2 separate regions of the Homo sapiens genome follow, and region 1 is linked to region 2. Evidence: promoter capture Hi-C in 16 types of primary human blood cells and fetal thymus (Javierre and others, 2016). All regions are on one chromosome and are shown on one strand. Each heading gives the region's core, a stretch centred on a gene start or on the middle of the fragment in contact. The rest is flanking DNA. Distances are from core to core; before and after follow the strand shown.

Region 1 (2,794 bases), core at 85-2,584, 560 kb after region 2:
GCGTCCGCCGCTGAAAGAATATTTCTTACACGGCTGCCTAGTGCTGCAGGAAGCGGGATTCACCACTCTGGTGCCATTCACCAACCCACAAAGGCACACACAGTAATGTGGAGTCAAGGCCTAATTAAAATCCTTGAACAGAACGTAGGTCTGGAGAATGGCATACATTCAGGAACTGCAGTTTAAAAAGGGAAAGAGCGAGAGCGCGGGAAGGAGACTGGAGAGAAGAAAGAAGCAAGGAAGGAAGGAAGGAAAGGTGGAAAGACCAGAGAAAAGAGAGAGAAGAAAGAGAGAGGAGAGGCGGGGAAGAGAGAAGAGAGGAAAGGAGAAAAAGAGAAGAGAGAGGGGAGGAGAGCCCTGTCACCAGCAGTCAGAGGCTGCACTGCGAGACTTTGCTGCCCTCAACAGCCTTCCAGTGTAAGCGCTGCCACCCAATTTGCTACAGAGTTAATTGGTTCTTTGATGTCTCAAGAAAGGTGCTGATAGAAGGAAGAAAAAAAAAAAACACGAGTCTTCCTTTCTCCATGGACTCCTGTTTATCTATTAAAAAAAAAAACTTGCTGATTCCAAAGGGCTTCCTTTTGTCCCCTCCCAAATCACCGCTCCCTTTCTCAAATTCTCATCACCTCGCTGTTATCCTAGATTATGGCTTTTTCTCGGGGTCACGATAGTACCTTTTTTATTTTATTTTATTTTATTTTTTTGAGGGGACTAATTTTCACTTGCTAATTTCCCAGCTGAAAAAAAAAAATGGGAGTGCAGCGGGCTCCCTGCTGCCACTGCTGATCAAATGGAACAACAAGGGCAATGCCTGCTAATATGGGAAGCTATTTAGTGGCACGCTGCCTTTTGAAATGATGATGATAATGGATTCAGTCTGCTCATTAATGGAGCCAGAGTGCTCATTAGAGTGAACAAACAAGCCAGGTTGTCAGTACTGAAAATGCCAAGTGCTTGTTTCCATTTTATCTGAGGAGTCTAGAGACAGTGATTTTACCATTTATTTCCCCTTTCTGCGCTTGACCCCAGAGCTCCCCCCAGCATCAAAGTCCCTCATCTGGTGGAGCCTGTACATTTGCAGCGTCTCCCTGGCTCATCACGGCTTCAAGGTCACAGGCACTAAAAGAGCAGCGGGGCTGGGTGTGTGTCTGTGTGTGTATTACACTTCTACGGGATTTTGTAACCAATAAATAGTGTGTGGGGGGGTGGGGTGGAGGGTGGGCGAGAGAAAGAGAAAATGAAAAGGAAGGAGGGAGGGAAAAAGGGAGACAGAGTTTTGAAATAGAAAGTAGATAAAGAGCTTTGGTGTGTTTGGAAATCTTTTAAAGACCAATTAACTAATTTAGAATGTAAACTTCACCACCGAGGTGGGGTCAGACTCCTCTCCAGGACAAGAGCGAGCCGCCAGACGTGAGCTAAAGAAGGTGCTGGGGGGCAGAACGGGTACTGGGGCGCCTGGAGGAGAGTTGAGGGGCCTGAAAGACTCTGGGGGCCCAGCTCGGTCGGTGGGTTTATTCCAAGTGCCCCGTCCCAGGCTTGCACTCCCCAAAAAGGAGCCGAGACGGGAGGGTTGAGGCGTCTCGGCTGCCTCCGTGGAGATCCCGAGAAAAGCTCCTGCGCTCCAAGTTAACTTCTCTCTGGGCCGCGCGGCGCAGTGGAGTCTCGGTGCAGCCCGCGTCCCTGGAGGCGCGCAGCGAAGCCCAGCGGGCGTGGACAGGGAAGGGGCGGGAAGGCAGGGGACAAGGCGGGGTCCTAAGGGTTGGTGGGGTTGAGCTGGGGGGGGGGGGGCGGAAAAAGAGATCTGCGGAGAAGCCTTCGGAGAGGCTAAGGAGGGCTAGCCTGGGGCTGACGAAGGCAATGCTCTTTAGAAGGGCACTGGGGGCAAAGAGGGTCCCCCAAAGCAGCTCATCTGGGCGCCCTTGACTAACAGTGCTCTGAGCTTTTTGCCTTGAGACTCTAAAGATCAAAATTCGATGTCCTCGGAATTATCTGCGGAACACGTTTGTTATTGAAAACACTTTATAACTATAAAATTGTATTTTTTTTAGGCTGAGAGAACTAATTTGCTCTTTACTATTTTCTGTACCTCGGGGAAATAAGGAGAGGTGATGCTCCTTGTTCCATTGAGGAAGAAATAGAGAAACATTTCTTTCATTTTTTTAAAGTTTTGAATGGAAGAGGAAATGGTCTTAACTGATTATCAAATAACATACTGTCATCGGCACTTAATCTTAGAGTTTGCTTTTTTCCTTATTCTGCATTACTAAGTTTATTCATTCAAGTAGATATGTGTGAGAAAATTTAGATGTCCTAAAGTCCCCTTTGATTTCTAATTTCTTGTATTTCTGCACAAGTTTTGCCATAATTTGGCATTCTCTTCCTATACAATTTGAAATTCTAAATTTTAACTATTGAAATTTAAAATGAGAAATATTTCACTTATTGCATGTGAATGATATATAATTTGTAAGATAATAACTCATAACACTGATTGTTTTCGTGTAGCTTATCTACAAATTCAATAATGCTCCTGAAAATAAGACAGATTCCATATTGTTTCTCAAACATATTCCATTACCAAAGGGTTAATTTTAAGTTACATAATCTAGTGAAAATGCAAAATCTGTACAATCTTGTGGAATCATAAGACAACTATATTCAATAAAATATTAGGAATAATTGTGGAGTTATTTTTGGATGAAGTTGCTCTTGTTTTTATATATAATTCTTGCTTTTCTCTTTGTCATCTGTGGAATTCTCTAAATTTTTAAGGTCTTGTGGTTTCAGAGGTTAT
Region 2 (2,700 bases), core at 127-2,626:
AGAACTGATCTGCTTCCATCAGACAAATTCCAAACAGTCCAGGCTCCTAGATAAGTTTTCAAGAGAGGTAATGCACTTGATTTCATACCATTTCTGAAATCTCCAAGTGAAAAAAAAATGTTAGTTATGTGTAATGGGGCAAAATGTCATTTGTCTTTTTGGGGAGAATGGTCTGAATGACTGTCATCAGCAACTTTGAAGGCTGTTTTTTTTTTTTTTTTTTTTTTTTTAAATGGAGTCTTGCTCTTGTCGCCCAGGCTGGAGTGCAATGGCACAATTTCTTCTCACTGCAACCTTTGCCTCCTGTGTTCAAGCGATTCTCCTGCTTCAGCCTCCCAGTAGCTAGAATTACTGGCGCCCGCCACAATGCTCAGCTAATATTTGTATTTTTAGTAGAGATTGGGTTTCACCATGTTGGCCAGGCTGGTCTCGAACTCTTGACCTCAGGTGATCCACCTGCCTCGGCCTCCCAAAGTGCTGGGATTACAGGCGTGAGCCACCGCTCCCGGCCGAAGGCTGGCTTTTTTACCATCATTGAAATCAAGTTAGAATGCACTGTCTCTTCATAGGTAACAAGTAAATCTTTGTAATCAATTGGAATAAATTCCAATGAGCTTTTTGAAAAAATGAAATTTCTGGGATATTATTAATGATGCACATAGAAAGACAGTGAATCCAATGCACATTTTCTTCAGTTTTGATAACGTTACTGTGATTCCTCGCTTGTCCAAAAGAATCGAAGAATGAGTTCGTTCTAGCTTTCTACAAATGAATTCTGCATTTCATTCACAATGAAATAAAAGAGCAAAAGTTATCTGAGTATACCACTAAAGTACTATATATCTGTAAATTACTTTACACTTGCTATCCTCGGCTCATCAGATTAAGCTACAATCAGAATGTCTCATTTATAAACGGAAAGTTGATCAGCTTTTTACTTCCGACCACAAGTTTATCTCCCCTCAGATACCACTGATCCAGTGAGGCATTTAGCTTGCCATAGGCCAGGCTGGGGCCAGTACCACGGCATCCGCAAGGGTGCCAACCTTGTTTGCCTGGATGCCTCCAGCAGATTCGCGCAAACTGCAACTGGTTTTACATCAGGAATACTGTTTGACCAAAGAGTAATTTAGGAGCCAGAGATGAAGTGAGTAAACGTTCAACCGAGGGGTCAAGGTTTCAAACGCACACGTTCTCTATCCCACCAGGAAAGTTCGATACTGTAACAGTGTTTTCGTTTTTCCTTGTCCACCCTAAAGGTTTTCGTCAGGATATTCCCAAAGCCTCCGTCGGTCTGGGGGCAGGAGTAGGGAGAAGGGATGAGGTGACTTTTTGGGCGGGGTGGGGGGAACGTCTGGGCAGCCAGGGACCTGCCCATTCACTCCCCTTTCCCAGCCCCGGGAGGGCGCAGCGCCCGGGTGGGGAGCCCGAGCCAGCCCAGGCCGGCTCTGGCCTCCTGACCCAGACAGCGCAGGGCGCGAGGGATCGCGCGGCCGAGCCCGGGTCGCGCCGCTCCCAGCATCGGGGCCGCTAGCCAAGAGTTCGAGGCCTTCCCGATCCGGATGTGATGAAAAAGAGCAACAGAGGGAGAAGTGTTTCAGGATTGTAGGAGTGGAAGAGGGGAAAGAGAGGCAGAGAGGGGGAAGGCCCCCTCGCAGGGGAGCCGGCTGGAGTGAGCTGGCTGGAAAGAGGGGGCGGAGTGCGCGGAGTCAGAGCCGCCACCGCTGCCGCAGTTGCCGCCACTGCGGCGTCTGGGCTGAGCCGGAGGGAGGCGGGAGGACGCGCAGGGGCGGCCGCCGCCGTCGTCAGGCCACCGGGGCGAAAATGCGGCCGCTGCCGGAGGCTCGCTAACTTTCCGGGGCGGAAGAGGAGGAGGAGGAGGAGGAAGGGGCTTGGAGCGACTACGGGGGGATGCGGAGGTAGGTAGTGGTCTCCGGGCGGGGAAGAGGAGGGGTTTGATCCCCATCCCCGGGGTTCTCCCAAACCCGATCTCTCTTTCCAGCCCCTCCCCGCTGGGTCCACCTCGGACCCCTGGGACCCCGCCGCTGTCAACTTGCGCTGTAACAGTTTTCTTCGCAAGTTTCAAATCAAAACTTCCCCGGGGTGGAGTTTGAGGGAGGGAAGTGGAGGGGGAGGGAACGTCCCGCAGGGGTGGTGTGCTCTTCTCTAAAAACATTTTTTTTTTTAATTTTGTATATTTTTCCGCCAGAAGCAGTCAGTTCCCTGCACCCAGCACCTCACAGCCCTTCCTCCGTGCGCCCTGCCGGGCGGCGAGCTAGGCGGCAGCGGCGCGGCGCGGGCTCGGCGGAGCGGCCCATGTCCGGCGCGGGCGAAGCCCTCGCTCCCGGGCCCGTGGGGCCGCAGCGCGTGGCCGAGGCGGGCGGCGGCCAGCTGGGCTCCACAGCCCAGGGTGAGTGCGCGCTTGCAAGTGGCAAGCTTCTTTGTCATTGTTGCATTTTTCAGTTTGCTCACAAGTGCACAGATAGGGGTGGGGGGAGTGCTGTGAGGAGGGGCTCCCACTCGTAGTTGAGAACTTTTGCACAGTTCGCGTTACTCAGGCAAGTTCTTCAGGATCCTTGCCCTAGATCAACAACCGGGTAAGAGGGCGGGAACCGTTGGTCCCTCCACTCCCCCTTCCTTTGGTTGCGAAGAAACAGGATGACAGGATTGCTTCTTTCTTAAGCATATGCATGTTTGGGC

What was found. Contacts are between HindIII fragments. The CHiCAGO score rates a contact against its expected background, and 5 or more counts as called.
Region 1: a contact is called between a fragment that was not itself captured here and the fragment with the promoter of MDFIC in region 2, in 3 of 17 cell types (total B cells, M1 macrophages and naive B cells). The highest score is 6.7, in total B cells.

What each region holds. Positions count from the first base shown.
Region 1 is chr7:115,475,871-115,478,664 of GRCh38, forward strand. No RefSeq gene overlaps it. Among named protein-coding and RNA genes, the nearest start is that of SNORA25B, 100 kb to the right of the region's middle. The HindIII fragment of the contact is 3,063 bases long and covers 1-2,794 here.
Region 2 is chr7:114,920,718-114,923,417 of GRCh38, forward strand. It overlaps MDFIC (MyoD family inhibitor domain containing), which reads left to right and starts at 1,377. Exons shown (of 5, transcript NM_001166345.3): 1 at 1,377-1,919; 2 at 2,210-2,410. The coding sequence starts at 2,317. RefSeq lists silencers at 1,317-1,456, 1,787-1,836, 1,847-2,026, 2,257-2,396. The HindIII fragment of the contact is 10,461 bases long and covers 1-2,434 here.